Regions from separate parts of the Homo sapiens genome. Here regions 2 and 3 are each linked to region 1. Evidence: promoter capture Hi-C in 16 types of primary human blood cells and fetal thymus (Javierre and others, 2016). All regions are on one chromosome and are shown on one strand. Each heading gives the region's core, a stretch centred on a gene start or on the middle of the fragment in contact. The rest is flanking DNA. Distances are from core to core; before and after follow the strand shown.

Region 1 (2,809 bases), core at 307-2,806:
CGAGGATATGACACCAAGTGAAATAAACATGTCACAAAAGGACAAATACTGTGTGATTCCACTCATATGAAGTGTCCAAAGTAGTCCAAATCAATGAAACATAAAGAATCATGATTGTCAAGGGCAGGGGGAGAGGAGAGAAATCGTTTAGTGGTGAAGAGTTTTAGTTTTGCACGATGAAAAACTTCTAGAAACTGTTGCACAACAATGTGAATATACTTAACACTATTGAATTGTATACTTAAAAATGGTTAAGATGGGGCTGGGCGCAATGGCTCACACCTGTAATCCCAGCACTTTGGGAGGCTGAGGTGGGTGGACCACCTGAGGTCAGGAGTTTGAAACTAGCCTGGCCAACATGGCAAAACCCTGTCTCTATTAAAAATACAAAATTAGCCGGGCATGGTGGTGCATGTCTGTAATCCCAGCTACTTGGGAGGCTGAGGCAGGAGAATCGCTTGAACCTGGGAGGTGGAGGCTGCAGTGAGCCGAGATTGTGCCATTGTACAATCTCTTGTCGCCTGGGCAACAAGAGCGAAACTCCGTCTCAAAAAAAAAAAAAAAAAAAAAAGTTAAGATGGTAAATTTAATGTTACATATTGTACCACAATAAAATAAAATCCTGCCAATACAACAATATTGCAGGACTAATACAGCAACCACCTTCCTTCTCAGAGGTTCTAAGGGGAAGTAAGAGCTACAAAACATTTTTATTCTATTAATTTAAAAATATCCTGTCCCATAAATCATATTTATAACAAACAAAAAGCTCTGGAGAATATAATGTTCAGAAGAGTGTACCCAGAAATAATTAGAATGTTAGATACAGCCCAATGAGTCAAATATTTAGTGCAAACAAGCTGCAGGATAACAATTATGGGGAGAATAAAAACTAACTTCTTCATTTCAAATGACAACAAAAAAAGGGAAATAACACTAAACTGCAGGGCCAGCAGTTACATAGATGGACAGATAGTGGTTAAATTTTGGACTAGGATCAAAACCAAGACTGCAGAATCCCATCATTATTTCGCTTAAAATACAGGTGATGTTTTAATTTGCTCGGGAGAGTTTATCATAGTGATCAAAAGGGGAGAACACCATCAGAAATCTCATCTAGTCCTAATAATACAAGTTTGTTTTAGCAAAGGTCTTAAAGGAATACATGAAAATATGCTAAAATAATGTACAGATGAAAACTTAAGAAACAGAAATTCAGTGCTTGTGCTTTGAAAGTCCATATAGCATATTATGTATCATTTCTTACAAAACACAGAAAATACATATTTCTGCTTAGAATTTATAAAACTTTTAAATTTTGAGCGGGGGGAGGAAAACATTCCACAATTGTCAAGTTGGAAGGTATTCATAAAGAAGATATAAATAATTTCCTAAAGTTCAGTGTTGGTTGAGCTTAAAGTTGTTCCATGGTAGTAGGGCTTTTTAATATTTTCAAAAGGAATCTGAGAGTTGTCATACCGAAAAAAGAAAAAAAAAAAGAGGGGGAAAAAAAAAACCCTACCACCACATATGAACATAAAAAAGAAGAGAACCCCAACCAATTGCACCACGACCGGATGGAAGAGCCCAGCTGACACAACCAAGACGAGTCTCAGTGTCTAGGGAAGCTTGGGGTTCTGCTCCTTTTACTTCAGGCGAACCTGAACTGTGAGTATTTCTTGATTTCGGCTACATAAATGAACCTTTATTTCAGCTAAAATTTGATTATCTGAACATTCAAAGTGAAACGTGATTCATGGTGATAAGGCTACTCTAATGTCAGCAGTTATTCGCTTTTAGAACTACTGAGTAAATTGCTTGAATGACACCTCTGCCTTGATTTCAAATGAGACTGTCTTTTTAGTTACTTTAAGTACTTTAAGACATTCAAGGTATTTAAGCTCCTACTGTCAATATAGTCACATTGTTGATACTGCATTTGGATACTGCCATCAAGATTTTGCAGATCTACTTGCATGAATTAAAAGTTATTTTCATATGCAATACATTTTATTTCTAATGTATTATAAATTATAACTTATTGACTTTAAGTTATGCTGTCTCCCTATTTTAAATTACTGTCTTTTCTTTATTATATTATTACTATTTTATAGTATTACCAGACCATATAACATTTAAGTTTGGTGTTTCAGAAGTAAATAAGGTGAATATTAGATAAGAGAGAAAGCAAAATATGCTTTAGTTCAAATAATAATTTTTTAAAATGTGTTTCTAGGGACACAGTTAAATTTGTAACAAAACCTAACACACTATTAATAGTATTATTTCCAAAGTAATATGTTTTCAATTTTCATTTTTTATACAGCAGTTAATGCAATTTTGAAGCATGCCCTGAATAGATTCAGTCATTATCAAGTCAAACTAAAAACGGTGAAAGGTTGCGACTATTACCAAATAGGTATGTATTTCAACATAGCAATGTGATATTTTCACAAACATACCCAAACTGCATTTTAAAAGCTTCTGCTCATCTGGAGTCACAGTGGAATCTGTTGGGTCCTGCCCTCTGGGTCCAGTACTCCTACATGAGCCAGTTGAAAAAAAACTGCAGGAGTAGGTGGTGGTGCGGGGGTACAATGCACTAATACTAGGTTTTTGAACTTGTGAATAGGATTTGCCAAGTAACAACATTTAAAAAACACTATCTACTATTACAAAACTATTGTGACCACTTCAATATAGCACATGGGTCACAAGTAATGCCCACTGGGAAATTAATCCCCTATGTAAACACAGTGGTTTGTTTCTTGTCTTCACAAGCAATTCTTAACATATCAAACAGGTAGTT
Region 2 (3,192 bases), core at 681-3,180, 1.0 Mb before region 1:
TTTTAAGACAGGGTCTTGCTCTGTCACCCAGGCTGGAATGCAGTGGTGTGATCACGGCTCACTGCAGCCTCGACTTCCCAGGCTCCAGTGATCCTCTCACCTCAGCCTCCTGAGTAGCTGGGACTACAGGCATGCACCACCACACCCAGCTAATTTTTGTATTTTTTTGTAGAGACGGGGTTTTGCCATGTTATCCAGGGTGGTCTTGAACTCCTGAGCTCAAGCCATCCTCCCACCTTGGCCTCCCAAAGTGCTGGGATTACAGGCATGAGCCACCGCGCCCGGCCCCAATTCCTTTCATTTTTTTTTTTTTTTTTTTTTTTTTTTTTTTTTTTTTTTTTTTTTGAGACGGAGTCTCGTTCTGTCGCCCAGGCGGGAGTGCAGTGGCGCGATCTCCGCTCACTGCAAGCTCCGCCTCCCGGGTTCACGCCATTCTCCTGCCTCAGCCTCCCGAGTAGCTGGGACTACAGGCGCCCGCCACTGCGCCCGGCTAATTTTTTTGTATTTTTAGTAGAGACGGGGTTTCACCGTGGTCTCGATCTCCTGACCTCATGATCCGCCCGCCTCGGCCTCCCAAAGTGCTGGGATTACAGGCGTGAGCCACTGCGCCCGGCCGTCCTTTCATTTTTGAGATTGGGGAGCACAAGCTGGCCCAGTGTCACACCACGGCAGCTGATCCAGGACTCAGATCATCTGCTTCCCAGGCACTGCTCCTTTCCAGTGCCCACCCTGTGCCTGCTGATAACTACTGGCATGTAGACTGACTGCTAAAGTCAATTTGTGTTAGGAAGCCACTTCTGGCTGTCCCTCTCCGTCCCTTACTGGGCAAAAAAATTTCCTACTCGATCTACTTAGTAAGTGACATTGCCAAGATCTGAAGACAGATCCGGCTGCCTACCCCATTCCCAGCTACCCAAAGTGCCTTTAACTGGGCACTTAAGGTGCTATTTTAGCCCTAACTTCCCTTGGCTTACTCTGTCATCCTTACGGCATCCTATAGCCAAAAAAGAGCTGATGAGCTGTTCAGCGAGCCTTACCCTCAAACAGGCCACACAAGAGTCTCCCTCCCTCCCTGCCTGTGCTCATGATGCTCGCTCTGCATCTTGCCCCAGTATCTCTTGTAGAACTCTTTCCTGTAACTTTCCAAGCAGGGGTAACAAACTCAAATGCCCTCAGGAAGCAGACGGGTAGAAGAAAGCTTCTACTTCACTAAGCTGGGTTGGGTCCCGCATACCACCCCTGAACCGCCTAGACCCTTGATCAATCTCTCTCTCTGCATCTGTTTATGAGGCCCCGGCGACCACAAGACCAGATAGCCACCCCGAGTGCTGGGTGACCCGCCGCTTCCTCCTTCCGTCCCCGCCTCAGGCGCTTACCTTGGCCACCTCCCAGGCGTCCACGGGCCAGCGGCCCGGCCGGCAGTTTCCCCAGTGCACATCTCCATTTCTGTTGACATGATGTCTCAAAATCTCCCTTTTCCATTCAGCGCACACCTGACACTGAGGCTGAAACTACAGGGGGCGGCGGTGAGGAGGGGCCCAGGAGGGAGGGACGTCGCGGTGGGCCCCGCATCGCGGAGGGAACAGGACACTTGCGCTCTGGGTCTGGGACAGGAACGGGGATGAGGAGGGGTGGGGTGGGGGCGGTGGTCAAGGCCCCGAGCCAGGTGCTCACCTGGCGGGCGCGAGGGCTGCACCGTGAGCCGCCGCGGCAGACGGCGCGGGGCCCCAGGCCGGGGGCTGCGGCGAGTAGGCCGCGGTGGAAGGAGAGCACCTCGCGGCCGACGAAACCCTGCAGGCAGCTGCGCAGCAGTAACAGGCAGTGGCCCGCCTTCACCCAGTTCTTGTACTCGGCGCAGTTGAGGCGCGCCGCTAGCTCCGACAGCACCATGTCTCCCACTTGGAACCAGGAGGTTGCGGGGCGTGGCGGACGGCAGTGCGCAGGCGCGGAGCCTGGGAAGTACCCGAGGCAGCGGCGCCTGCGCCGGCGGCAGCGACGCCTGCGCCTGCGCGGCGCGGTGCCACCGATCCCGGGGCGGGGCATCTTGACTTCCGGGGCACGTCGGCTCCACCCCACTTGGGTGACGTCTGACGTCTGACGTCTAACAACTTTGGTGCTTGGGGAAGCAGTTAACTATTTGAAACCCTTAGGCCCTCTTCGTCCCCCAAACAGAGACCCTGTCAGCATCCGATTCGACTCCCTCTCCTAATGTAGGGCACTTCTGTTTTAACTTTTTTTTATTGTCCAGATGTACAAGGTGCTCAGGGCACATTGCTTGAATCGTGTATGTTCTTTGCATTATACAATTCTAGAGTTACTGGTTCCTAAGCCCACAGACCAGCTGTAGCAAATTGAGGTATTAGTGAAACGTGACCGCTGGCTGCCTGCGGTGTGCCAAGCTAACCCAAAACTCAAAATCCCCCGCCACTGGACCACCCAGAAGGGGGCGTTTGCCTGTTTAGGGCAACACATCACTTGGATTCTAGAAGGCTGCACACCTGAGCCAGATAAGGGCATCCTGAAGCACCTAGCAAAGGTTAGACGATAATTATCTAGTATTCTTGATTATATGATAATTAGTGCTCCTTGCACATGGAAGTCTGATTTAAGTTCCAAAGAAGTGCCACAAAGGTCAGAAGGCACTGGGATTGTCAACTCCAAGTGACAAGTCAGGTCAGTTTTAGTTGTTTTTAATGAGCTTTCTGAGCTTGGAAAACATGTCAAAATTGTGTGTAGTTAAAAGCCTCTGAGGAAAGAGTCTAAACATTAAACCTTCCCGACTGTGGTTCACAGCAAAAATGTCCAGTGTTTAGGAGCACTAGCTCAGACTCAAACTGCCCCTTCTTAGCAGTTTGATCTTAAGCAACCTTAATTTGATCTCAGGCAAATTACATTTCTCTGGGCCTCCATTTACTCATTTTTAAGAAGAGGATATCAATAACCTACCACATTGGGTTGTTGTGAGGATTAAATACACATTGAAATATTAAGAAAATGCCTAGCACACAGTAAGCTCTCAGTAAATACTTGCTATTATTTTATATTGACCTAAATATGCCCTTTCATCAATCAGTTATATTCTTGGGCAAGGTATTTTAACAAATCACTGGCCACTTGGAAGTGGAGGCAACTTGCAGAAAATTGTGAGCATACCATGGAGTTCCTGGAGTTGTGCAGCACAGTGCTGGCTGG
Region 3 (3,051 bases), core at 41-2,540, 2.0 Mb after region 1:
GAGAAGGGCTGCGGGAAGCAGAACACCGCCCCCAGCGCCCAGCGTGCTCCAGAAACATGAGCACAAACGCCTCAGCCTCCTTCCCCGGCGGCACCGGCACCGGCACCAGTACCCGCACCAGTACCGGCACCGGCACCAGTACCCGCACCAGTACCGGCACCGGCACCAGTACCCGCACCAGTACCGGCACCGGCACCGAGCGCAAGGCGGAGGGCCCGCCCGAAGCCGGGGGCACAACTGCCCAGGTCCCGAACCCGGACTCCAGCTTGGACGACACCTCCTACAGCCTGTCCGAATGGAGCGTCCGTTCTGAGTGGCGGTCCGTCTCGGATCCGCTAGCCAGTTCCCAGTGGAGCACGTCCTCAACTGCCGAGGCCGCCTCCTGGAGCTCCAGCATACACTCCCCAATCAGCACTACCGGTCTTAGCGAGAGTACTGACTCCGACTCCAAGAGTGGCCTCCGGGGTTTCAGCGCTTACAACCCGAGCAGTCGGATCCCCAAGTCTACCACCAGCTCGAACTCCTCCGATGGGGCCGTCACAGCCTCCAATCAGGACACCGGCATTCCCTGGGTATTAGTAACAGGACCTACCCCGCCCGTAAACTCCCCCGTAGAGTCATTGCAAGGGTCTGCCTTCTCCTCAGGGTTCAGCACCCCACGGGGTTTGGTAAAAGGACCGACCCTGCCCCCGGATTCCAACCTGACCTCAGTGTCCGACTACACTTGGATATTTGTACGGGGACCTCCTATACCCAATGACCTTTCGCAAGTGTCAATACAAGCACCTCCTACACCCAGTAACACCCCCGAGTGTCAGTACAAGGGTCTGCCGCATCCTCAGTGTCCAGCTTCCCCTGGGGTTTGGTACCAGGACCACCTCTACCCAATAACATTTCCCCAGTGTCGCCACAAGCACCTCCTGCACCCCATAACATCCCCCCAGTGTCAAGGCAGGCGTCTACCCCCACCTCAGTGCCTGACACTCCGCGGGGTTCAATACAAGAACCTCCTGCACCCAGTAATCCTTTCCAGCTGCCGACACAAGGACATTCTAAACCTAATAACTCTCGCCGAGTGTCAGTACAAGGGTCCGCCCCGCTCTCAGTGCCCAGCTCCCCCCGGGTATCAGCTGAAACATCAGCTCCGCCCCTGGGCGCTCCCGGAGTATCAGCAAAAGGGTTCGCCCCGCCCACAGTGCCCGGCTCCCCCCGGGTATCAAAAGAAGGATCGGCTCCGCCCCCGGGCTCCCCGGGGGAGTTGATAGAAGGGTCCTTCCCACCCTTTGCCGTCCCCACTCCTGTGCCTACGACCCAGGAGCGTGTCAGCCAAAGCATGGAGAATCAAGAGAAGGCGAGTATCGCGGGCCACATGTTCGACGTAGTCGTGATCGGAGGTGGCATTTCAGGTCAGTGTGGACCGTAGCGGTGGCCTGGGGGACCCTGGCCAGTGAGGGGTAGGGGAACCTACAGTAGCTCTTGTGGTGTTTGGGGGTCTCTCATGCATGCGAGAGTGTAGTGTAGCCATGGCTTGGCCCCATATCCTGCGAGGTAGGAGTGGGGGTTGTGCCAGTTTTGCTGGTGGTGTGACTGGGGGAGGCAGACACAATAATTTTACTACTACTACTATTAAATACTAATATTTAATTAGCTCTTGCTGTGCAGTTGTATTTAGCACTTTACGTGGATTTTCTCAGTCCTCAACAGTCCTGTGAGGTGGGAACTAAATTCATCCCCGTTTTGCAAAACCAAGAAACTGAGGTCTGGGGAGTTTCAATAACTCTCTTGAGGTCGAATCACCTAGCTTGTAAGTGGCTGAACGATTTTCTCCCATTTAAGACCTGCAGTACTAATTCCTGAGGTGGCTGCTTTGCCTCACTGATTTCATATCCTTTGCCCTAAACAGAACATCAGGATACAGATTTCTGTAGTATTGAGGGAGCAGTAGTGTTATTCCAGTCCTGCTCTTCTCTATTTTCCGTAGAAAATTTAGTAGGTGAAGAGGAAGGAGGTAGACTCCTTTAAGAAAAGGTTAAAAAAAAAAAGAGGAGAAGAGGGGGTGAGCTCTTAAACTATTCCTGTGTGTGTGTGTGTGTGTGTGTGTGTGTGTGTGTGTATGAACTGTGTTTATATATATATATGAACTGTGTTTATATATATATATGAACTGTGTTTATATATATATATGAACTGTGTTTATATATATATATGAACTGTGTTTATATATATATATGAACTGTGTTTATATATATATATATGAACTGTGTTTATATATATATATATATGAACTGTGTGTGTGTATATATATATATGAACTTGCAGGAAGGTGTAGGACATTTATTGTCCAAAGAGAATCCCTTTATGAAGCAGGGGCTGAGTGCCCTGTTGTATCCTCCTTCCTCCTTTCACTAAGAGCTCCCACCACCTGAATCTTGTCTTCTGATGAGCCAGTTGGTGGGCCAGGGTGCCCCTGGTCCTGGCTTGGATTTGTGGCTAACCAAGTGAGTGGTGCATGAGGCTTTCCAATATCTTCCTGGAAGCCTCATCATGATTGATATATTGTCGCCTATGTTGCCATCATTGGTAAAATGTTTGAAAATTAGGAATTTTGTTGCCTTTCATCCCTGGCTAGAATACCACACTGACCTATCCTCCCCCTACTAGGTGTTAATAATTTCTGAGTTATCCCTGCAGGATCTGATTCAGAAAGAGAAAGCTGATGGGAGGGAGTAAGTAGAGTGGCCCCACAGTAGCCATTTTTATATATAAATCTTTCGAGGAGACTCTGAACATGCTACAAATTAATGTTGGGTAGAGATAGCTTTATCTGAACCCAACATTGTTTATCCTGAACAGGCCAAGAGAAGAGATTGGCATGAACTGTTGCTTTGCCAGTTCCAGCCAGTACCAGCAAAAACATACATGTATGTTGGAGCATCAGAGGAAAGCAGCTCCTGGTGGAGAGTAAGAAAAAGGAGTATTTCAGCTTGTTTCTCTTTATTTATTTATGTATTTATTTATTCATTCAAAAAACACTTGTTGAGTACCTGCAAT

What was found. Contacts are between HindIII fragments. The CHiCAGO score rates a contact against its expected background, and 5 or more counts as called.
Region 2: the fragment with the promoter of CXorf38 here is called in contact with the fragment with the promoter of GPR34 in region 1 in 1 of 17 cell types (monocytes); the score reaches 6.2 in monocytes.
Region 3: a contact is called between the fragment with the promoter of MAOA here and the fragment with the promoter of GPR34 in region 1, in 6 of 17 cell types (naive CD8 T cells, total CD4 T cells, monocytes and 3 more). The highest score is 9.8, in naive CD8 T cells.

What each region holds. Positions count from the first base shown.
Region 1 is chrX:41,687,417-41,690,225 of GRCh38, forward strand. It overlaps GPR34 (G protein-coupled receptor 34), which reads left to right and starts at 1,557. Exons shown (of 3, transcript NM_001097579.2): 1 at 1,557-1,668; 2 at 2,327-2,419. All of the region lies in intron 5 of CASK (calcium/calmodulin dependent serine protein kinase), which reads right to left. The HindIII fragment of the contact is 2,059 bases long and covers 1-1,626 here.
Region 2 is chrX:40,645,631-40,648,822 of GRCh38, forward strand. CXorf38 (chromosome X open reading frame 38) reads right to left here and starts at 1,931. Exons shown (of 7, transcript NM_144970.3): 1 at 1,675-1,931; 2 at 1,377-1,511. The coding sequence starts at 1,890. It overlaps MED14 (mediator complex subunit 14), which reads right to left. Exons shown (of 31, transcript NM_004229.4): 31 at 2,675-3,192. RefSeq lists an enhancer at 1,112-1,311 and silencers at 1,562-1,711, 1,832-2,131, 1,967-2,147. The HindIII fragment of the contact is 2,915 bases long and covers 1,197-3,192 here.
Region 3 is chrX:43,655,009-43,658,059 of GRCh38, forward strand. It overlaps MAOA (monoamine oxidase A), which reads left to right and starts at 1,291. Exons shown (of 15, transcript NM_000240.4): 1 at 1,291-1,406. The coding sequence starts at 1,334. RefSeq lists a silencer at 1-193 and an enhancer at 125-184. The HindIII fragment of the contact is 10,667 bases long and covers 1-3,051 here.